Linked DNA regions of Homo sapiens: regions 1, 2, 3, 4, 5 and 6 are each linked to region 7. Evidence: promoter capture Hi-C in 16 types of primary human blood cells and fetal thymus (Javierre and others, 2016). All regions are on one chromosome and are shown on one strand. Each heading gives the region's core, a stretch centred on a gene start or on the middle of the fragment in contact. The rest is flanking DNA. Distances are from core to core; before and after follow the strand shown.

Region 1 (3,409 bases), core at 78-2,577, 490 kb before region 7:
CTCAAGCTGGAGTGCAATGGCACAATCCCAGCTCACTGTAACCCTGAACCCCTGGGCTCAAGACATCCTCCTGTCTCAGCCTCTGAGTAGCTAGGACTACAGGCACATGCCACCATACCCAGCTAACCGTTTTTTAATTTTTTTGTAAAGACAGGGTCTTGCTATGTGGCCCAGGCTGGTCTCAAACTCCTAGCCTCAAGTGATTTCTCCTGCCTCCACCTCCCAAAGTGCTGGGATTATAGGCATGAGCCACTGATATAATGTTAATCATATAGAAAAAAACTTCAATAAATATTGGCTATTACTATTCTTTTAGGTTTTAAAAAAAATCAGTTACCTTAATTATATGAGAAATATACAGTTCTCTCACTGTTCCTGTAAATTACTGAATCATTACTCATGTTATAGTATTTCAGTGATCAAATTCTGTTTTGACAAATCACATATTCAAGTTTTTGGTTTGGAAAATATATTCCCTATAATTTATATTTTACATGCCCAGAACGTAATCCTAGAATTTACTAATGTAATGAGGGAATCTGGTCCTTATCTAGCAGTGAAGCCCTAACAACCACAGAGCAGTACATCAGAAAAGCCAGGGCCTACTTTTTTGGCACAGTGCCCTTTCCAGCTCCTTCTTACCACTGATGCTAAACATTAAACATGCATCATCACTTCTTAAATTATAATTGACTGAGAGCAGAAGGAAGAGCATTTATATAATTTCTCAAAATCTACAAGTGGCCAGTATAGACTTCTGCACCCAGGGAAACTTAAAAATAAGCCTATGAATGTATGCTACGATTTAAATAAAATTATGTAAATGCATAGAAAATGATATCCAAATAGCTGTTCTGTTAATGTGGAGGGACTGAGCACTTAGTATCATTAGTTTGAATCTTCTTTAATGTGCCTTTACATTGCTTTCAAAATAAGATCTTTCACAAAGAAAAGGATACGGAACATAAAATTACCTGCTCTTGCTAGCAGTGTGCGAGCAGCTAAGTCAAACTTGTGTCTTCTTGTTACCGCTGAGCGACCTCTAGCTGATGGTCCACTTCCAGAAGCTGCATTCTCTGTATGATCCAAATTATCAGGGCTACAAGTGCAAGTGAGAAAGCAACACAAAGTTTTTGAAACCATTATGGAAAGAAAGCATAGGTGTAAGCTTACTTGTAGTACTACTTTATTCTCATTGAGAATAAAATATGTTTATGATAAAATTTGAAACACATCTTTATCCCTTGAACAGTTCAATTATGCATATAACATTTCCTGTGACCTGAGCAATAACTTTGTCTGATTTTGAATTCTTCCAACAACAAAATGATGTTTAATGAAGCTCAAATTTAAATGAGATCAAATATGACCTTAACTAAATCCTAAAAGATTAAATACTTAAAATTTGAAATGATTGAGAATTCTTGCCTAGGAAAAACAGGTATTTTGAAATACGTTATGAAAATATTCACTGAGCTTGTTGGAAAAAGCTTGCATGCCATCTAGGACACAAGCCTTGGTTACTATATGGCTCCATAGTTAAAATGAAAAATAAAGATTTAAAGTCATAAGAAGTGATGAAGGAAAAAAGATTTTAGGGAGAATTTGTAAGATATTCTATACATCTCATTTTAGGATAGGCATTATCACAGCAATCTTTTTACACTTAAAGGGGCATCTTCTACTAGATATTAAAAACTATAGAAGAGATGAAAATATAAATATTACACAGAGAAGACTTAAAAGTTCAATTCTAGGCCAGGAACGGTGGCTCATGCCTGTAATCCCAGCACTTTGGAAGACCAAGGTGGGTGGATCACGAAGTCTGGAGTTCGAGACCGTCCTGGCCAACATGGTGAAACCCTGTCTCTACTAAAAATACAAAAAATGAGCCGGGCATGGTGGCACATGCCTATAGTCCCAGCTACTTGGGAGGCTGAGGCAGGGAACTGCTTGAACCGGGGAGGCGGAGGTTGCTGCAGTGAGCCGATATCGCGCCACTGCACTCCAGCCTGGCGACAGAGCGAGACTCCGTCTCAGAAAAAAAAAAGTTCAATTCTATCAAATACATTAAATCAATGTCCAATATTAAAATGAATACTCGATTTTATATCACTTGTACGAGATAAAATTATTTTATTAGCATGTTTACTTCAAAATAAACTTGTTTCCTTTTTCAGTACAATTTTACACAAAAATTATGAAATTTCTTCTGGCATGAAAACACCTACTCAAATCAAAACTTGTCATGTCACTTTTACCCTTCACAGAAATATAAACTTGTAACTAAAATGCCCATCTTTTCATATAACTATATTTATCAACTTTACATACAATTAGAAGCATTTATGACGGGATATATAATAAATGGGGCTTTGAAATTTATAACACATGGAACAAAAGTACAGAAACTGGAATTTCACCTTTCACTAAAACCTTCCTCCATTTCAGCAGCATCAGCTGATGGTATGTCTCCAGGTGACTGCAAATAACAGGGATCATTTGACTTCCCGCCACTGCCTAGAACGGCTGCTCCAGGCCTAGAGTCTGCTGTGCTGCCCGACTGGGGCTCCTCTTCATCCTCATGCCCAGGGTGCTCTATCATCCACATGGCAAGGACAGTGATATTCTGGGCATCAGCCTCTCCCCTAGCACCTATACAGGGGAAAAACAGTCTGATGCTGACTTTGGGCAAAGAATTAGGTCTTTATGTTATAAGAGTGTTTGCTATGATGCTCTTGTAACAAAATATAGTGTTAAAAATCTTACCAAGTTTCATAGCCTCTTAAAAGTTATGTTGTCTTTAATAAGCTAGGACTTCTCATATCTGTATACACTGATATATAAAAACTTATCCTACCTGTAGCTTCCATGGCTTTGGCAATCTGCCGAAGAGAGAACCCCATTTCCAGCAAGGGAACTGCAATTGCTGGAGGAGGAGGAGAAGTTGAAAGTCTACTGCTTGGGTCTGACAAGGCTGAGACAAAAGGAAGAGAAATAAGAACCTAAATATCACTAGATACCGTGAGTAAAAAGTGTCTTCATAGTCCTCAATTTCCTAGTATTGTCCAAGTTTAATGAAATTTTCCTCTACTCAGAATATGTGGCTGGGCACTGTGGCTCACACCTGTAATCCCAGTTTTACTAACATCCATTTATGTTATACTTTGTAAAGATTTGTGTAGAGGTACTATAAGAGTATGTAAATAACCCACTCCTCATCCAAGTTCCATATTTGTAAATCTGTATACTCAATAAAATTTATTTGTAATCTCAAAATCAATACTCATGTACTTTTGTAGTCATTTGTGACATATGCAGAGGGACTAAAAAGTTTAGTCCCTCAACATATGTGTTCACAGCTGAGGTCCAACAAGGTGATGCTCTGCCTTCATGTTTCAGCTCTCAT
Region 2 (3,006 bases), core at 161-2,660, 450 kb before region 7:
TAACTACAATCCTTTCGTCATGACATACTCTCATCATTGGTCCATGCATGGCCCAATTTTGAAATCACATATTTATAATAAATATCTGTGAACACAAGAACTAGAAAACTAACAGTAACTTCTATCTATTTGCTCCTCCTCCAGCCCATCTCTTGCTACCTAAAGTTTTATTATCCTGAGGCCTGGGTTTATTATTTCCTTGTTTTTATTGTTTTAATGTATTCCTAAGATGAATAATGGTTTTAGTTGTCGTTGACTTTTAAAAAAGAGTATCATTTTATATCACCTTTTTGGACACACTCTTTCATTCAATATAATATTGCTAATATTCATCCACATTACTAAGTGTAACCATGGTTCATTTATTTGATTGCTGTATAACATCCTATTATGTGAATATACTACATTTCTCAATTAGGGAAGTATCTTAAGGTACCCAATTAAATATGCATAAAAATTATATCAGTTATGTAACTAGATAGAAAAGTTTGGGAAGATAACTACTTAAACACTAATGCCCACAGAGAAAACAAACTAACAACAATATTCAATGTAGAATCTTATTTTTGAATTACTATACTGGTGTCAATTAAACCCTAGGATTTCAAAATTCGTAACACGGAGCTAATATTACAAAGTAACTATGAAATAATTTATATGTATCCTAGTAAAATAATGTAGAATGGCAAAGAATATATGGTTTATCTGCCTTCTGTGTTTTAGAAAGAATTATTAAGATTTAAAAAGGCTTAATTTTCACCACTGCACTCCAGCCTGGGTGACAGGGCGAGACCCTGCCTCAAAAAAAAAAAAAAAAAAAAAAGCTTAATTTTCATTCTTGCTGAACATGAAAAATAACAACCTACCTAAAAATTTCCCCAAATTGTAGACCTGAATATTCTTTCATGTGACACAGAAAAAACTGAAAATTCAAAGAATAATATCATAGATGCATAATGTATTAAGTTAAAAATATTTAAAGAATAAAGTAGAGGCTAATGTAAAAAATATATACATTCTTTTTTCATTTCCTTAAAGCACCTCAAATTCAGAATCTGTATTTAGCCTTAACTTACAAATGATAGATTCTGGCTCCTCACATTGAACTTGTTTTTTGGGGGGGTGTTTTTTTTTAAATATTAAAATTTTAGAATAAAAGGTTCTTCTAGTTACTAATACTTATAAATTACTTTTCAAAATGAATATAAAATGCGCAAGGAACTGATATTAGAACTGCAGAAGAAAAAGAGACCTTAAAGATTATTTAGTCCAATTTTCACAAATGAGGAAACAGAGGCACAAAAAAATTGGTTTGTCACATAATGACATTAATTCCTTAATTTTATGGGAGGTAGTCTTACATATTCATTATTAACCAACTCACAAATCACTGATGGAAATTTCAATTGCCTGCCTATATAAAGGTTCAATTATGAATCTACCAATACTGAACTGTCTTCATATAAACCAAAATATTCTATGGAATGGCTGACGAAGCCCAAAATTAAATCTTCTGCAATTTAAAGCAGGGGTTGGCAAACTTTTTCTGTAAAGGGCCAGACAGTAAATATTTTAGGCTTTGCAGACCATAAGGTCTCTGTGACAACTACACAACTCTGCTGTTGTAGTATGAAAGCAACCACTTAAATAAATGAGTGTGGCTGTGTTCCAATAAAACCTGATAAAAATAGATGCCAGGTCAGTCTTGGCCTCCTAGCTGTAGTCTGCTGAGCCCTAACGGATGAAATTAACCCAAATGTAACTTTGTATAAATAAAATATTAAGAACAGGAAACACACTATGTGGAAGCATCAGGATAAATAATTTCCATCAAAATATTTAGTTTGACATCAAAAAGACTTAAAACACAAAAATTTATAATATGGAAATGGGAGAGGAAAGAACTTTAATTTTTTTTTTAAGTATAACAATCTGATAACTTTGGTTTGCTCTGTACTATCTGAATACAGGAAATATTATATCTGAAAAGGGCATTAAAAGCTTCTACATAACAATTGAGACTAAGCCCAATTCTTAATACTAATTCAGAATCACCTACTATATAAAGAAAATACAAAATCCAACAAAAAATTTTTGAGATTGTTTACTTGTCCTTACAAGTTTGGTTTTTAAATGGAATTTTCAAAATGAACATGGCAGAGCTGCAATACATACTTTATAAACCATAAAATATGTAGGCAAGCTAAAAGGGGAAAAAAATTAAACATGCCATCATGTACTTGCTTGAAGCTCTTCTTTTTTCTGGGGCTCAACTGGCCAAAAAGGAGTAAATACACTACCACACGAGAATCAGAAAACAAAAGGAGAAATTTGATACAGGAGAGAAACATTTACATTCGCTTTTCTTTATATCATCTAATTTGAAATGCACAGACAAAATAGCATTTCACCCATACATGTTATACCATGAAACACACATGTTGATAAATGTTTCCAGTATTATTTTAGCAATAAAACCCTATCAAAATATTTAAAGATTAGGGGCGATAATCAAACCACACAGTATTTTAACTAATAAGATTTCTGATGCTGCTTAAGTTGCTGTTTTGATATCCCACAACTTTTCACTGTATCATCTTCAGCTTAAATATGAAAACTAAAATCAAGTATCTGCAAAAACGTATTGTCTTTCTGTAAACAATCGTACAACCATAGCAAATCTTTTAAGTTTTATCAAAGTACCAAATTACTAACATATTTTTACAGGTTTTGTCAAGAATTTTATCAGGCTGTTATGAAAATTAAATGAGTTACTATAATATTTGTGAAGGGCTTAGAACAATGCTCATATAGTAAGTAGTTTATAAATGTTTACTAAATACAAATTTCATATTGCCTCTGAGGTGCTAAGCAGAAGAAATGTTTCATCCACCTCTTTTAGAAGTAAATTTAGCTGGCCGGGCATGGTGGCTCACGCCTGTAATCCCAGTACTTTGGGAGACCAAGGTGGGGGGATCACGAGGTCAGGAGTTCAAGACCAGCCTG
Region 3 (3,359 bases), core at 602-3,101, 420 kb before region 7:
TTCTTTGAGCAAATTTGCAGAACGTGAATAAATATCTGTGGCATGAGGCAACAAAAGCTGAAGATGTTTATGAAGCAATGCCACACTGCTTGAGTTCTAAGAAGAAAAAAAGTTCCTAAATTACTACTTTGAAAGATTCAAGGTGTAAAAATATCATGGCCTATCCAAATATCTGAGTTTCAAGGTCCCTGATAGATCACCATAAAAGACAAATAATCGCATACCTCACTAATGTTATTGATATGGCAAAATGCCAGCAGCTGTTTCTGTAGTGAACATAGCAGTTCATGAAGATGAGCAGGCTGACTGTTTTCTGATGATGATGTTCCAAGTAGAAATTTATCACTATTCTTTTCTAGCTCTCCAAATGCTTGATCCTAAAATGACACACAAAGGAAGTTTATATTTGAAGTGCTTGAAACTGAAAGTAACAACCTACCATAAATCTGATTTAAGCAGCATTATATGGGCTGGGTGCGGTGACTCACACCTGTAATCCCAGCACTTTGGGAGTCCGAGGCAGGTACATCACCTGAAGTCAGGAGGTTGAGACCAGCCTGGCCAACATGGTGAAACCCTGGTCTCTACTAAAAAATACAAAAATTAGCTAGGCGTGGTGGTGGGTGCCTGTAATCCCAGCTACCGGGGAGGCTGAGGCAGGAGAATTGCTTGAACCCCAGGAGGCAGAGGTTGCAGTGAGCCAAGATCACGCCATTGCACTCCAGCCTGGGCGACAAGAGTGAAACTATGTCTCAAAAAAAAAAAAAAAAAAAAAGCATTATATCCTTTCTCCCATTACCAATTTTTAAGTATTTGCTATAACCCTTATGATACTAGCTATTAGATGGTAAAATTCATCAAGCTACTTCTATTTGTTTTTTCCATTAAAAAAAAAAAAGCAGCTGGGTGCGGTAGCTCACACCTATAGTCCCAACACTTTGGGAGGCCGAGGTGGAAAGACTGCCTGAGGTCAGGAGTTCAAGACCAGCATGGGCAACACAGCAAGACTTCACCTCTAAAAAAATTTTTTTTTTTAATTAGCTGAGCATGGTGGTGCACACCTCTAGTCCCAGCTACTTGGGAGGCTGAGGTGGGAGGACCACTTGAGCCCAGGAGTTCGAAGCTGTAGTGAGCTATGATGGTGCCACTGCACTCCAGCCTGGGCAACAGAAAGCCTGTCTCTAATAAAATTAAAATTAAAATTAAAAAAGAGATATGACAACTAAATACAATGTGTGATTCTGGACAAGATCATGAAGAGGAAGGGCTGGGGTCAGAAACTGCTATAAAGGACATTATAGGGGCAACTGTAGAAATGTAAATGTAGACTATATATTAAATAACAGTTCTGTATCAATGTTAAATTTTGTGAATTCAATAATTATTCTCTTGTTACATAAGAAAATGTCCTGGTTTTTTAAAAATACATACTTAATATATGCTTAAATACTTAGCGGCAGCCAGCCATCTGCAATTTACTCTCAAATGATTTAGAGAGAGAGAACAAATTTGGCTGAAGAGCACAGGGGAATTCTTTGAATGATTCCTATAACTCCTCTGTGAGTTTTAAATTACTTCAAGTTAAAAATATTTTTTAAAAAGAGATGCTTTGTATATTTAGAAAATATCAAAACTCTATTTTAAAAAGTTAAAAGCACCATTTAAACAACTACTCAAAGAAAGTGACTGCTACTATAATATTTTTTGGTGTATTTCTTTCCTTTGTCCTTTTAAAATATTTTTCATAATATTGTACTGCATATTCTATTTTTGGTCTGCTCTTTTCCAATGGAATCATAAATGTTTTACACATTTTCATAAACCATGTGTATATAAAATATGATAAAATATTCCATTGAACACATGTACCATAAATTACTTAACCACTCCTCTATTTTTAGATGTTTCTGTTATTTCCAACTTTTTTTCCTGTAAATAATCATGTGCTGAATATCTTTAGGCAGAAAATTTGGTTTATGTGTACAATATACAAGACAATATGAGAACACTGTAGGGCCCTTGCTCTAAGTTGTTAATTAGGACCATTATTTTAAAATCTTAGAACAAATTTGGTTTAAATCACATCAGAAAGAGACAATAATTTATTATTTCTACCCAAAAGCAGTTAGTATTTTATTTCCATTTCCATATAATATATAAATCTGCCTTAGCCCTAATATTCCTTTCAACTTTGTTGTAACATTCCTTATAACTTTGGGAAAAATTTTTGGTCATTAACAAATGGCTATATACACAATATTGTTCTTATCCATTTGCAGCCATTACTCCTTAACATCAGATTAAATTTACATTTTTAAATCTGAAAGAAAAGAATTTTGTAGGAAGAATGTTCACTCTGACTTAGTGATCAGCCTTTCAATGTGGGCGGGATAGAGCACTAAGACTTGTATTGGAAGAAAAAGAGTACGTAGACCAGACCCTGAAGAGCCACAGGAAACAATATTAATTGATACACAAACAATTCAAAGTTAAGTTACACAGTACACTCTGATCCTGTAAGTGCTGATGAGTACAGAGATGTGTAGCTATATGCATCTCTGGCTAGATGGGGTTATTTGGGCAAGGTTTCCTAGAATAGTCAAGTCTTACATCACAGATTGGTAGAGAAAAACAACAGGAAATACGTGTACAATGTACAATTCTGGAAAAGGATGATTTCAGATAAGAATGGTGTGTGAGCCGATGATAAAGGGTCTGAAGGGTGGTGGTGGTGGTGGTGTTGTTTTGAGATGGGGTCTCGCTCTGTCACCCAGGCTGGAGTGCAGTGGTGCGACCTCAGCTCACTTCAGCCTCTGCTCCCTGGTTCAAGCAACTCTCCCACCTCGGCCTCCTGAGTAGCTGGGACTATAGATGCCAGCCGCCACGCCTGGCTAATTTTTGCATTTTTAGTAGAGACGGGGTTTCACCATATCGGCCAGGCTGGTCTCAAACTCCTGACCTCAGGTGATCCACCCAACTCGGCCTCCCAAAGTGCTGAGATTACAGGCATAAGACACCGCGCCTGGCCTGAAGGGGTTTTAATTTAATACAAAGAAGTTGTATTCTTTAATATAAAGAAGTTATTTAATACAAAGTTATTCCAGCAGTAAGATGCTGAGAAGAAACCAGCAATAGTGACAATAGCTATAACATTATTAGCACTGAATCATAATGATCTGGCTTAGAACTCAAAGAAATGGCAGGAAAAAAAGATGAATTTAAGAAACACTAGAGATTTAGAATTAATGGCATACTAATACAGGGAAAGCTATAGGGTCCACTGTCCTCTATCCTACTGACCAACCTATTCTCATTCAGTTCCAAGTACATTGTTTCATTATAAGATTATAACTGGCAAG
Region 4 (3,227 bases), core at 604-3,103, 400 kb before region 7:
TTTTGGCCTAGACTGCCTTTCAAGTTTACTTGGAGACACAGAGCACTATAGCCCTCAGTGGCAAGCCTTGCAGGAATTCAAATTTGGATCACTGGGATCAGCAGTTCCCCTCTGGCTAGGGTTGGTTTAAATGCTCCCTCTGTGCACAGGTGTCAGCTGAGTTTGGTCCAGTTCTCCTTTCTGCTCTAACAGGATAGCATTGAGTTCAATGCCTCACAATTGTTGTGTTCTCCCTCCCCAAGCACCCAGAGACACTCTCTGCACCATACTGCCACTGCTGCAGGGGGAGGAGTGGCACTGCCTATTCAGGACTGTTTTTTCTATCTCTTCAGTGCCTCTTTCAGTGATATGAAGTTAAAACTAGGTACTGTAAGTGCTCACCTGATTTTTGGTTCTTATGAAGGTGGTTTTTTCTGTGTAGAGTTGTTAAAGTGGTGTCCTTGGCAGGGGGAATGATCAGTGGAGCCTTCTATTCCACCATCTTGCTCTGCCTCTCAATTTCCCTTTTGATTTCTGTAGGGTCAGTAGTAATATCTTGTCTTTCATTCCTGATTTGAGTAATTTAAGTCCTCTCTCATTTTTCTTGGTCAGTCCAGCCAGAGGTTTGTTGATTTTGTCTTTTCAAAGAACAAACATTTAGTTTCCTGGATCTCCTCAATTGTTTTTCTGTTCTTTATTTTTTTAATTTCACTCTAATCTACATTAGTTCCTTTTTTCTACTTGCTTTGGGTTGAGTTGACTCTTCTTTTTCTAATTTCTTAAGGTAGAAGGTTAAATTACTGATTCGATATATATTTTTTTTAATATAGATGTTTATAAGCTATAAATTTTCCTCCAAGCACAGCTTTAGCTGCATTTCATGAGTTTTGGTATGTTAAGTTTTTGTTTTCATTAATCTTAAGTATTAAATTTATCTTGTAATTTCTTTCTTTGATCCACTGATAATTTAGGAGTGCACTGGTTTAAAAATTACTGTACTTTCTATTATTACCTACCAAAAGAGTTTATTTTCTGTATTTTGTATTACAAATATATAGATATTTTTAAGTTTCCCCCAAATTTAACATTGTATTATAATACTAAATATGTTTTTTTAAACTATACTCTCCTTATTTATAACCAGTATTCTATTCTAGGCCACTTCTTCCTCCTTAAGCTGACCTTTCTCTCCTTAGCTCTGGTTACAGTTCTAGTAGATGATCCAGTCCACTTATTCAGTTACTACTACTGACCAAGCCATGCCCTAGGTCCTTGCCCTCAGGAACTCATCTTCTGGTGAAAAAAGAGTGACATGTTTGTAAATAAGCAACTAGAATACAATGTGATGTAATGAGAACATATACAAGAAAAACCAAATCTGGTGGGAGAGCAGGAATAAAAAGTTTATCAGAGATGGCATCTGACCTTTGTCTCAAGGATGAGTTAACCAAAAATACTCTCACCAAGAAAACAGGAGTAAGGGAAACAACATCCAATTGAAATTGTCCAATGTACAGTTGAATATATTGTATAGCTAAAATCTCAGAGAAAGACGTGGTTTGAGATACAGATTCACAAGTCCTATTCTCTTACCTCTTGGATTTCATCTGGGACAGTTGAGTCCATCAGTCTGAAGAGCAAATTTCGAAGTGGACCTGCCTGCCTCCCGAGAATGCTGGTAGCTACCCCTCCCGCAAGTGCAAGAGCAAGGTGATTTGAAAGTAGCTTCAGGCACAGCTTGAGAAAACTGTGGTGTTCTCTGAAACCAAATAAACGTCTATGAATTCTCGGATCATAAAAGTGCCTGTGCTATCCAGTTTGGGTAACATTTTTATATCTTTAAAAATTTTGTTGGCTAGGTGCGGTGGCTCATGCCTGTAATCCCAGCACTTTGGGAGGCGGAGGTGGGTGGATCACCTGAAGTCAGGAGTTAGAGACTAGCCTGGCCAACATGGCAAAACCCCGCCTCTACTAAAAATACAAAAATTAGCTGGGCATGATGGCGGGTGCCTGTAATCCCAGCTACTCAGAAGGCTGAGGCAAGAGAATCACTTGAACCTGGGAGGCAGAGGCTGCAGTGAACTGAGATCATGCCACTGCACTCTAGCCTGGGCGACAGAGCAAGACACCATCTTAAAAAAAAAAAAATTTTGTCAAGTCATGAACAACAGTAATTTTTAAAACATGATTTGTGAAATTACAAGTAACTTTTTCCTAGAAGTTATTATCAACAAGTATCTAAGTTTAGCTCTTTTCTAGATTATAAAAAAGTTTCATATAATTTGGGAAACCAAACAAGAAAGAACAGTAAGTCAAAACTCAAAAGGAATAATTTATACACATGCACACACGCGCGCGCACACACACACACAAAGATACAAAACATACATATAACATACCTTGATGAAGGGAAAGGGAGTGGGGGAATCTCACTGTTTATTTTATCACAGTATCTCTCAAGAAAAGAACGCAGGTGTGAGAAGGTACTCTCTTCAAGATCTACACAATAAGGTCGGTGCCATGCAACAACTTGTCTAGAAGGACACATAAGAAAATAATAAAACAGTCTTAAAATGAAATTTTTATGCACGATCAAAAACGAAAATTAAAACATATATTGGCTGGGCACGGTGGCTCATGCCTGTAATCCTAGCACTTTGGGAGGCCAAGGAATGCAGATTACCTGAGGTGAGGAGTTCAAGACCAGCCTGGCCAACATGGTGAAAACCCATCTCTACTAAAAACATAAAAATTAGTCGGGCATGGTGGTATATGCCTGTAGTCCCAGTTACCCAGGAGGCTAAGGCAGGGGAATCGCTTGAACCTGGGAAGCAGACACTGCAGTGAGCAGAGACTGTATCACTGCACTCCAGCCTGGGCGACAGAGTGAGACTCCATCTCAAAAAATATATATATACATATATACATTAAAGCTGAATGAGTTCAACAAGATACAAAGAAGACATTACTGATTATGAAAGTGATAAAACCTTTCATTTTAGCAACTAAGGAAAACCAAGAATTTGCCATCTTTAAGAAGAAAACATACAACCACCACCTGTTTTGGAAGGTTTGGATGTCCACTCACCTGAAAGCAGAGGGCTGAGTCACATGATCTACTAAAGCCCCTCTGGTTCTAAGAGTCCAGAAAATATATATTTCATATTAAGAAAAATATCCTGACTCTATAGAGTGATATACTGAAATCTATTAAAAGACAAAATCCTGAAATTTCTTGTTAATACTTT
Region 5 (3,272 bases), core at 335-2,834, 510 kb before region 7:
TTCCTTCTAGTAACTGGGACATCTTTGCTTTTTGGATATTTTATATCCAAAAAGGCTATGCTTTTAATGCCTATGGAACTTCAAAATATCCTAAATTTTGTCTAAGTAAAAAATAATGAGAAATAATAAAATTTGTGAACTACCTCTGATTAGCTGGTACTTTTTAAGGAAAAAATGTCAATAATTAACTATTTCTTCAGAACCTGCAGAATAAGGCATCTACTATATTTCAAAAGTCATGTCTGACATGACTACAAGGATAGCTGCAAAAGAGGTAGCACTGCTTTAACTCTGGCTCTGTGGTTTATTCTACACAGGCCACTACTGCCTAGGGTCTGATTCTACATTTTACTTGCAGTAGAACCTTTCATGAAGGTTTACAGCTTATTTTAACATCATTTAACCATATAAAATGTAAATCAAATCAGCACATCGGCTCTAATCTTTAAGGGTATGAAAAATAATACTGTAGGGAATAATGTTATATCATAGAATTACTTCACAGCAGGGGACCAGCAGTTTTACTAGAATATTAAATTTGAAAGCCAAGATATATTTTGTATACTTAGTTAAATGTCTTTGCAATGCTTCTCCTTTTCAAGGAAAAATTGTTTGAGAGAGTTTTTTTTTCCTTTGGGATGGGCTCTCACTCTGTCACCCAGGTTGGAGTACAATGGCGCAGTCTCGGCTCACTGCAACCTCTGCCTCCTGGGTTCAACCAATTCTCCCGCCTCAGCCTTCCAAGTAGCTGAGACTATAGGCATGTGCCACCACGCCTGGCTAATTTTTGTATTTTTAGTAGAGATGGGGTTTCACCATGTTGGCCAAGCTGGTCTTGAACTCAGGACCTTGAGCAATCTGCCCACCTCAGCCTCCCCAAAGTGCTGGGATTACAGGCATGAGCCACTGCACCTGGCCTTGAGATAGTTTAGTGCTACTGTCAAAAATCATGGCAGAAAGTCAAAATCTACTTTATCACTTCCAATGGAAATGAAATTGTTCAATATCTAAGCACTGTCACCAAAGTATGGGGTGTAGTAGAAAAAACACTAGACTATAAATCAGGAGACTTAGGTTCTAATTCTCCTTCTGCTACTAAATAGTTGCACTGTTTTGGACAAGTAGTAATCCCTCTGGACATCAGGTTTCTCCTCCATAAAGTGGGGTGGTTAGACTATGATTTCTAAAGTTCCTTACAAGCTTACACCCTATCATTTGATATAACTACAATATTACCTTTGATCTATTTGAGCAAGCAGCTACTCCAACTTCTGGAATCCATACTGTGGTCTGAATAGCTCCAGAGCCTATCACAACAGTTTGCAAGACAGAGCCATCCTAAAATGAGATATATTTACCAATACACACCATTGAACTGTAGGTATAATTTACATTTAAATTTCTATTTCACATTGACAAAAACATATTCTAAAGTCTACATTTTAGCTAAATTCAGCAACGTCCAATCACATACCTACTACAAAATTTTCTAGGACACAGCTGATTTTAAAAACACTTATCATCAGTAAGAAAAATGTAAGGGCAGAGGATTCTGAAAGAAGTTTCCTCAGTATTCAAGAGATTACTATATAAAATGTTTCTACAATTGGTTAATTTTTATCACATGTGTTTAAGTTAGTGTCAAAATATTCCTTAACATAAAAATAAAATCTATGCTCTTACCCTTAAAGACCAAATGTTCATGAGCCCACCTAGTCCACCAGACACCAGGGCCAACCCATCAGAACTAAAGGCAACAGTCCGAACAGGAGTGATGTGTCCCCGCAGCTGATAAACACACTTGGCTCCTGATGATTTCCTATATCCATCCTGAAATTCATTATTTTTAACATGCATTAAAATAAAGATAAATTATATAAGTTCAAGATTTATCATTCACTCTTGGAAATTTTATATTTCAGAATAAAATTGGCAAGGGGGAGAGATAATTTCTCTCATAAAGGATAGTAAGCTTGACTGAATCAGTAATAAAATATCAATCTGATTCCCTTTGTTGAAGCTTTCATCTTTTTTAAAAAATATATTTCTAAACTAGTTTTCTACTCTTCAAACTACAGAAATAACATCTCAAAGTTCTAATTATCCCTCAGAGACAGGAAAATACTGACTACTTTTTAACCAGTGTTTTGATTTTTAAATTTTCACTTCATGTAATTTTCATTTTTATCCCCTAACATTTGTGAACTGCACATGCTGACTCTATATAAATAGATTCCTCTTTTTGTTGGCTAATGGTTCTGTCTGTCACACATTTGTTCTGCAAGCTTTAGAAGTGACATAGGTAAGGCCTGTCTATAGGGCTGCCCTCCAGCACAAAGAGTAAACCAGACCTATCTGTAGTACTCCCACCTCCACTGCTGTGATATTCTCCTATTAGTGAGTTGGCTACTCCTTCCCTCCCTCTCCACCCTTTCTCCCCATCCTTAAGCTCCTTCTTCCTTTTAGTTATGACAACATAATACTATATGTATTCACTACCCAAAGATGATGTAAAGTGTATTTCTTCCAAGGGTATCATGAGCAAAAGGAAGGCAACAGAATGTACAAACTGGTAGCTCAGAGATGCGATCTGACTGGCCACTCAGTGTTTTAAACAATTTTAAGTTAGGTGCCAATGTTTAATATTGGGAGATTTTACTTAAACATTGGATTCTTAGCATCTATAGAAAAAATAAAACAATCTGGTAACAACAGGCTCTTAATTCTAGAAACTGACAATCAGCTGTGTGCCTTTATATAAAGCATGTAAGCTTCTTTGTTTTTTTTTTCTGTTTTTGCTTTTTACCCTCTCCAAACCTTCTAACCCTAGCTTCATGAATTTATGTTACTCGCCTAGAGGGCTCTCTATAAATATATACATTTGTAACTTCTGTTTAATATAAATAAATCATTCTTCATAGCAAGGATTCTGGCATCAGTTGGAGATTCTTTGGATGGATGTGCTCCCATGGAGTTTCTATTTTAATGTACTAACAACTTATGACTCGTCTATCTGTAGTATCAATTATATCCACTATCACAGTAACAGTCACCACTTAATATGTATAGAATATCTCATTTTACCAAGCAATTATGGTATCTCTGATTTATAAAAAATTAAGCTAATTCAGGATGACAATTACTTATATTTCCCAATGGATCTTGCCCTTTGGGATATAGTAATGACTTTTTTAGTAACCAAGGGAGAATGACTCTGATGTCATATACTTTCCATAGTTTCAGACAGTCTTCAAAAACACCAGAATGTTACC
Region 6 (3,202 bases), core at 268-2,767, 470 kb before region 7:
GATGGAGTAGGGAAAAAAAATCTACCCACCAGCACAGGGAGATCACAAAGGTTTTCTCTGCCTGGGTTTTGGATGAGGTGAAAGAGAAAGTTTACAATGGAGGGTATCCTATTAATACTGTTGTCATGAAGTTCAAATTCACACCATCTACAACACCTGAAAATTCCCCCAGCTGAATGAAAGGTAGTTTCCTCATGATGACTACAACTTCTATTATTCAGCTGATAGCATCTTATTACATTTAAAATTATTTCTAGATTTCTCTCTCATACCCATAATTGCCAGTGAATTAGATTATCCCTAAACTAGGTCTTGTAGTTCTTGTGACTGCACGTTTGAAAGTTGACTCACTGTATTCAAATTGCCAGAACATGAAATAGTGCCTTAATATTAATATATCGTAAAGTCAATTTCTGAAAGTAACCTTCTTCTAGAAGAATGGATTACCTAAGTCAAGTACTTTTAATGGCAGAAGAAATAGCTTATTATATTTATAAACTCTATCTGATGCTAAACAATAAAATAACAAATATTCTTAAATAAAGGTTTGAGACTTCATTACCTTTTCCCCTGGATTGCTACTATAGAACATCACACATGGGTACAACTCTGCTGCATCCACATCTTCAAAAGCTAATTTGGGTTCCTACAGTGTGGCAGCAGTGAGGAAAAGAAAAAGGAAATAGAAATTTTTTTAATTCACAATATCTAACCACATTAGAATTGAAAGCTTTTATGAGACAGAACAAAAGTTACTAGATCAAATTCTCAATTAACCTTGCTAACCGAGAAAATTCTACATATAATAAGTGATCATAATGTGTTCATCTGTTTCAAAAATCTTATTGGGGTTTTACTATCTTCCTGTTTGTTGTTAATAAATGTTTTAAGAACCAGAAAGTATTAGAGAGAAAGGAGAGACGAGCAGATAATCTATAAACTGAATACGTGGCACTTGAATAACCGAGTTGACTATAAATAGAAACAAGAAAAATGTAATGCTTGTGAATGGGTGTCGGTACCTCTCCATTTTTCCCAAAAGAAATGGTCCTGGCTTCCATGTCTAACACACAGGTAATGAAATCTCCTTGAGTAAAGCTGGACAATGTGAGAGTCTGTTCTCCATTGTGATAGAGGTTACCACTGTAGGCCCTATAGAGCCACATATCCGAGGTAGTGCGGTGATTAAAGTCATGTACTGGCCAGCGAGAAACTCCAACACACGTGCCTTCATTACCTCTGTTTTCCTTCACAATATAAAACTAAAATAAAAGTGGGATATTCATTAATACTCAAAAAATCTATTTATATACTATTAACTGCATTAACCAATACTGAAAATATGTTTATAAATAATACTAATGCATTTATGGAAACATGTTATTTTCAGCATAAATAAAAATAACACGAAAATAATCGCATCAATTTAGAAAGATTTTAAAACATTCTTTATCTTGCAGGGCATTTAGAATAACCTTTGAATATCTATAGTATTTAAAATAAGCAATTCTAACTTACAACTTAATAATGAAGCTGAGGAAGTATGTTTAGTCCAGAAATTAATGAAAACTTTAATTCTTTACATATAGATTTTAACTACTCTCTTGCATATACCTCTGTTTAGAAAAAGAGTTAATATATTAAGCCTGAGACTAGGTGTATTGTTTTGTTTTGTTTTGTTTTGTTTTGTTTTTAATTTTCTAAAGAGATGGGGTCTCACTCTGTTTCCCAGGCTGGAGTACAGTAGCATGATCATGGCTCACTGAAGCGTCAAATTCCTGGGCTCAAGCAATTCTCCTGCCTCAGTCTCCTGAGTAACTAGGACTACAGGTGTACACCATCATGCCTGGCTAGTTATTTTTTGTAGAGATGAGGTCTTGTTATGTTACACAGTCTGGTCTTGAACTCCTGGCCTCAAGCAATCCTCCCACCTCGGCCTCCCAAAGTGTTGGGATTATAGGCATCAGCCACTACACCTAGTGTGACTATTACTATTTTCAAAAAGGCATGCTTGCAACACTGGCCTTTGGCTAGGACCTGGGAATTTGACTGGTAAAGTTTCTTACACTGATTTAAAAAAAAAAAAACTTCCCCTACGTGATAAAGGTGGCTCACTGACCTAGAACATTTAAACACACAATGTGGTTTATGCTGAATACCTGCTCTCCTTCTGGGAGTATGAAATGTTGGTACATGTCAGGTTGAAGGTGTCTACGTGACCAGCCCCCAGTAAAAACCTTGGGTTCTGAATCTCTAATGGGGTTCTCTAGAAACATCACACACATGTTATTTTTCTTGCTGGGGAAAGCTTGTGCACTTGTGCTCATGGCAGGGAGAGAACAGAAGGAAGCCTACAGGATTCTTCTATACCTCACCTGTGTCCTTCCCTTATTAACTGGGTGTATATCCTTACCGCATCATTATAATATAAGTCTCCGTCATGAGTGTATCAACGTGTGGAGTCTGACGAGTCCTTCTAGTGAATCTCTGAATGTGAGGGTGGTCTTGGGGACTCATGACTTAGCAGTGGCAGCAATGAGATTCACTAGAACAACCCTGATGCATTAGAATATAGTTAAATATTGCTGGGGAAAAAGAAAGAGACGAAAGGAAAAGATAAAACTCTGGTACCTAGGTGGCTATGGAGTTACACATAGTATGAAACAGAAGGTGGACTGCTATCTGTTGTGAGGGGCAAAAGTTACCTATCAATTTTTAAGATAAATCCAATCACAAGAGAGTTGGTTTGCTACCCCAGACGCTCTTGGCCTTGCTAGCTAAAGTTAGGAAAAAAGAGCAGCTCAGGTAAAAACTGTGCTGTTCTTTCTTCCAGGAACAACTTCTTTCCTGAGGAGAAAGGGCCCAAATATTCCCACAAGTGGGCTTTAGATGAGCCAGAGTAGAAAAATTAGCTTGTAGTTGCTCTCTCCTCCAGTGGGAGGGGAAAGGGTTCAAAAACCCCTGACAGCTTTGAGTGTGGGTGCAGGGGCTCACACCTGTAATCTTAGCACTTTGGGAGGCTAAGGAGGGAGGACTGCTTGAAGCCAGGAGTTTGAGACTACCTTGGGCAAGAAAGCAAGAACCCCATCTCTACAAAATATACAAAAACAAACAAACAAGAATAGAAAGGAACTACTCCAGCTATTTTCTTAAGCTGAGCTTTTGCTATTGCTACAGCAGGTTCTCCCCCTGCCACAATTTA
Region 7 (3,237 bases), core at 264-2,763:
GTTTTTTGCTCCAGCTCAGAGGCGTCTCTGCAGAAGCAGGGGAGGGGTGAGTCCCCTCAACCCCAGCCCCGAAGACAGGCACTCTGCTTCCTCCTGCCCACCCCAAGACCTCCCACTACGTATGAGCTTTGGAAGGCAGGGCCTCGCCTCTCTGCATGTCACGGGGCCTTTGTGGGGGAAGTCAGTGGAGTAGAGGACCTGCCATGGTGCTGCTGATAGCAGCTCTCCGACAGCTGAAGGGTGCAGGGCTGAGAGGTGGGAGCAGAGGTCCTTTCCAGCACATGGCCTGAGAGAGTTCTGGATCAAAATCCTGCCACATATCCAGGAAGAACCTGCCCGGAGGGGTGGACAAGAGCAACCCGGTGCCACCCCCCAAAGTCTCTCTTCCCATCCACTGCCCTGTGCCCACTTATCCTAGTCATCCAGGAGAAGCCCACAGTCAAGCTGCTGCTCAATGCTTCTGTTAAGGGCCTAACATGAATCATCTCACTTTTTTTTTTTTTTAAGACAGAGTCTTGCTGTTGCCCAGTCTGGAGTGCAATGGTTTGATCTCGGCTCACTGCAACCTCCGCCTCTCAGGTTCAAGTGATTCTCCCGCCTCAGCCTCCTGAGTAGCTGGGATTACAGGCATGTGCCACCACACCTGGTTGATTTTTGTATTTTTAGTAGGTACGGGGTTTCACCATGTTGGTCAGGCTGGTCTCGAACTCCTGACCTCAGGTGATCCGCCTACCTCGGCCTCCCAAAGTGCTGGGATTACAGGCGTGAGCCACCGCGCCCGGCCAAATCATCTCACTTTATACACTTGCCTGAAGGAGCCACGTTATCCCTATTTTGCAGATGAGCAAAGGTCTACGGAGCTCCTGAAATCCAGGCAGTCTGACGTCCAAATCGGAGTCTAGGTCCCTAAACTGCCTCTTCCCCACAAACAGCCTGGAGCCCCTTAGGGTTGGAAGATATGAGTGAATGGATGGATGAAAACAATGAATGAATGGGGGGGCCTGTGGATGCTGGGGAAAGGGGCATCAAAGCTGGACTGGGTCCAAGCCTTGCTCAGGTGTGGCCTCAGCCGGGGAATCCAGATCACAATTTCAGGGACCAGGCTGAAAGGAGGGAAAGGCTCGGGAAGGGACTGAGGAACCCAAGACAGGTCCCTGGTTGGCCCCAGGACCGGCGCTGAGGCCCGGGCCCCGCCTCCGTCCGCGCCTGGAGCCACAGGCCGTCCTTGGTAGGCGCTTAACTCAGGTTGGGTGACATTTTCGCTCGCCAGTTCCTGGCATCAGTGAGTGCTCCGTCAATGTTTGACAAACGGTTGACTCCACTGCCCCGCGCTGTGGGCGCACTAGACTTCGGGGGCGGCGTCCAGGTCCCGCCTAATCTTCTAGGCTCAGGACCCGCGGCGCAAGGGAACGCCCGGGGCGGGGTCGCCTGGGGGCGGGGCCTGGGGTGGGGCCTGCGGACCGAGGGGGCGGAGCCGGCCGCCCCGGGGTCCTCAGTCCGCTCCGGGAGAGTTAGGGCTCCGAGCCGAGCGCGCGGAGCAGCTGGGGCCGGGGCGCGGATGCTGGAAGTTCACATCCCGTCGGTGGGGCCCGAGGCCGAGGGGCCCAGGCAGAGCCCGGAGAAAAGCCACATGGTGAGCGCGGCCCCTGGATGGGGAGGGGCGCCGGGACCCGCAGGATTTCCCCGCGCTGCGCTCAGTGGGGACCCGGGGCCCGGGCCTGGGTGAACGAGCGCTGCGGGCTGGACCGTCGGGGGAAACCTTGTCGAGGGTTTGGGGGCCGCTTGGATTTGCCAGCCTCGCGGACCATGGTTCGAGCTCTTGAGGGACCCCAGGGCTCCGAGGGGCAGGTCCGCCAGCCGGTTCTCCCAGGTGTGCGGGAGCGGAGAGTCCCCGGGCAGCCGCGGCGCCGCAAGGCCGCTTTGTGCCTTTGAGAGCGGGAGGGTGGGCACGTCGCCAGGCGCAGGTGCTGCGGCGTCCTCCCGCGGGGCCTCACGCGCAGACCCGCTGCCCGCCCGCGCCGCCAGGTGTTCCGAGTGGAGGTGCTGTGCAGCGGGCGCAGACACACGGTGCCAAGGCGCTACAGCGAGTTCCACGCGCTGCACAAGCGGGTGAGGCGGCGCCGACCTCCCACCGGCCCCGGCCCAGCCTCTGTCCAGCCCCCGCCCAGGCCCTGTGAGGCGGGCGGGCGAGCCCCAGCCTCCGCCACCCCCATTACTGCCTCAGTCCCTGCGCAGCCGGTCAGCCCCCGGGCCTCTGTGGGTGGGTTGGGGCCTTCCTCGCCCTCGGCCGGTCCACCACTCACCAGGGTCTGTCCCAGTAGAGCCCGAAGGCGGGGGCGCGGGAGGGCTTCTGGCTGGGGCGAAGAGGGCTTGAGGGCTCAGTCGGGATGCTGTGATCGCACGCGGTAAACCTCCAGTAGATCAAGAAGCTGTACAAAGTGCCCGACTTCCCCTCGAAACGCCTGCCCAACTGGAGGACCAGAGGGTTGGAACAGCGCCGGCAGGGCTTGGAGGCTTACATCCAGGTATGCGAGAGCACAGTTGGTTGCCCCCCGGCCTTCTGTGCCAGGGGTGTGGCCCAGACAGAGAGGTGTGGGGGCATGGCAGGGAGGGAACCCACAACTTGGGGATGTTATTCACCACCTCAAGCATCAATTTTCTGAGTCTAATATAGGTCCAAACACCCCCCTCTGGCTTGTTGAAAGGACTGAAAGAGGTAACGGACACAGGTAGTCCCAGCTCCATGAAACCCAGGTCCTGTCCCCTCCATGGTGAGGTCCTGTGCTGCCCTCCTGATGGCATGTAGGGTGAGGGTCCTTCCCCCAACAGCAAAGCTATGCCGCGTCATGGGGTACAACCTGTGCACACAGCGCCCAGCGCCCAGAAGGGCCCTGAGCCTGGTTCAACGCTCTGCTGTCATTGTCGTGAAATTCTTTTTTTGGAACAAAGAGCCCTGCATTTTCACTGGCACTGCGCTATGCAAATTAGTAGCTGGGTCTGATTGCAGGTCTCCTCTGTCCTCTCCAGGGCATCCTGTACCTGAACCAGGAGGTGCCCAAGGAGTTACTGGAATTCCTGAGACTTCGGCACTTCCCCACAGACCCCAAGGCTAGCAACTGGGGGTAAGGGGGGCCGATGGCGGGGGCCAGGGGCTGTCAGCAGTGAGCAGGTGAGGAAAGGTGTTGGAGGGCAAGCCCTTTCTTTTCACATCTGCCAGGATCCAGCATGACCGCCCTC

The links. Contacts are between HindIII fragments. The CHiCAGO score rates a contact against its expected background, and 5 or more counts as called.
Region 1: a contact is called between a fragment that was not itself captured here and the fragment with the promoter of SNX22 in region 7, in 1 of 17 cell types (M2 macrophages). The highest score is 5.0, in M2 macrophages.
Region 2: a fragment that was not itself captured here is called in contact with the fragment with the promoter of SNX22 in region 7 in 1 of 17 cell types (M2 macrophages); the score reaches 6.8 in M2 macrophages.
Region 3: a contact is called between a fragment that was not itself captured here and the fragment with the promoter of SNX22 in region 7, in 1 of 17 cell types (M2 macrophages). The highest score is 6.2, in M2 macrophages.
Region 4: a contact is called between a fragment that was not itself captured here and the fragment with the promoter of SNX22 in region 7, in 1 of 17 cell types (M2 macrophages). The highest score is 6.2, in M2 macrophages.
Region 5: a contact is called between a fragment that was not itself captured here and the fragment with the promoter of SNX22 in region 7, in 3 of 17 cell types (M2 macrophages, naive B cells and M1 macrophages). The highest score is 6.4, in M2 macrophages.
Region 6: a contact is called between a fragment that was not itself captured here and the fragment with the promoter of SNX22 in region 7, in 6 of 17 cell types (M2 macrophages, naive B cells, M0 macrophages and 3 more). The highest score is 7.1, in M2 macrophages.

What each region holds. Positions count from the first base shown.
Region 1 is chr15:63,663,496-63,666,904 of GRCh38, forward strand. It overlaps HERC1 (HECT and RLD domain containing E3 ubiquitin protein ligase family member 1), which reads right to left. Exons shown (of 78, transcript NM_003922.4): 41 at 2,861-2,977; 42 at 2,424-2,655; 43 at 975-1,099. Among named protein-coding and RNA genes, the nearest start is that of USP3-AS1, 64 kb to the left of the region's middle. RefSeq lists a silencer at 2,493-2,663. The HindIII fragment of the contact is 322 bases long and covers 1,167-1,488 here.
Region 2 is chr15:63,699,908-63,702,913 of GRCh38, forward strand. All of the region lies in intron 25 of HERC1 (HECT and RLD domain containing E3 ubiquitin protein ligase family member 1), which reads right to left. Among named protein-coding and RNA genes, the nearest start is that of USP3-AS1, 100 kb to the left of the region's middle. The HindIII fragment of the contact is 1,177 bases long and covers 823-1,999 here.
Region 3 is chr15:63,729,273-63,732,631 of GRCh38, forward strand. It overlaps HERC1 (HECT and RLD domain containing E3 ubiquitin protein ligase family member 1), which reads right to left. Exons shown (of 78, transcript NM_003922.4): 15 at 225-377; 16 at 1-96. Among named protein-coding and RNA genes, the nearest start is that of HERC1, 100 kb to the right of the region's middle. The HindIII fragment of the contact is 7,228 bases long and covers 1-3,359 here.
Region 4 is chr15:63,745,346-63,748,572 of GRCh38, forward strand. HERC1 (HECT and RLD domain containing E3 ubiquitin protein ligase family member 1) reads right to left here. Exons shown (of 78, transcript NM_003922.4): 11 at 2,379-2,513; 12 at 1,573-1,738. Among named protein-coding and RNA genes, the nearest start is that of HERC1, 87 kb to the right of the region's middle. The HindIII fragment of the contact is 5,044 bases long and covers 1-3,227 here.
Region 5 is chr15:63,641,721-63,644,992 of GRCh38, forward strand. It overlaps HERC1 (HECT and RLD domain containing E3 ubiquitin protein ligase family member 1), which reads right to left. Exons shown (of 78, transcript NM_003922.4): 57 at 3,272; 58 at 1,684-1,830; 59 at 1,237-1,338. Among named protein-coding and RNA genes, the nearest start is that of USP3-AS1, 43 kb to the left of the region's middle. The HindIII fragment of the contact is 772 bases long and covers 1,199-1,970 here.
Region 6 is chr15:63,679,515-63,682,716 of GRCh38, forward strand. It overlaps HERC1 (HECT and RLD domain containing E3 ubiquitin protein ligase family member 1), which reads right to left. Exons shown (of 78, transcript NM_003922.4): 35 at 1,023-1,262; 36 at 563-646. Among named protein-coding and RNA genes, the nearest start is that of USP3-AS1, 80 kb to the left of the region's middle. The HindIII fragment of the contact is 1,578 bases long and covers 729-2,306 here.
Region 7 is chr15:64,150,218-64,153,454 of GRCh38, forward strand. It overlaps SNX22 (sorting nexin 22), which reads left to right and starts at 1,514. Exons shown (of 7, transcript NM_024798.3): 1 at 1,514-1,633; 2 at 2,026-2,109; 3 at 2,421-2,525; 4 at 3,028-3,122. The coding sequence starts at 1,559. RefSeq lists enhancers at 173-282, 3,210-3,237 and silencers at 1,200-1,639, 1,840-2,219. The HindIII fragment of the contact is 12,291 bases long and covers 1-3,237 here.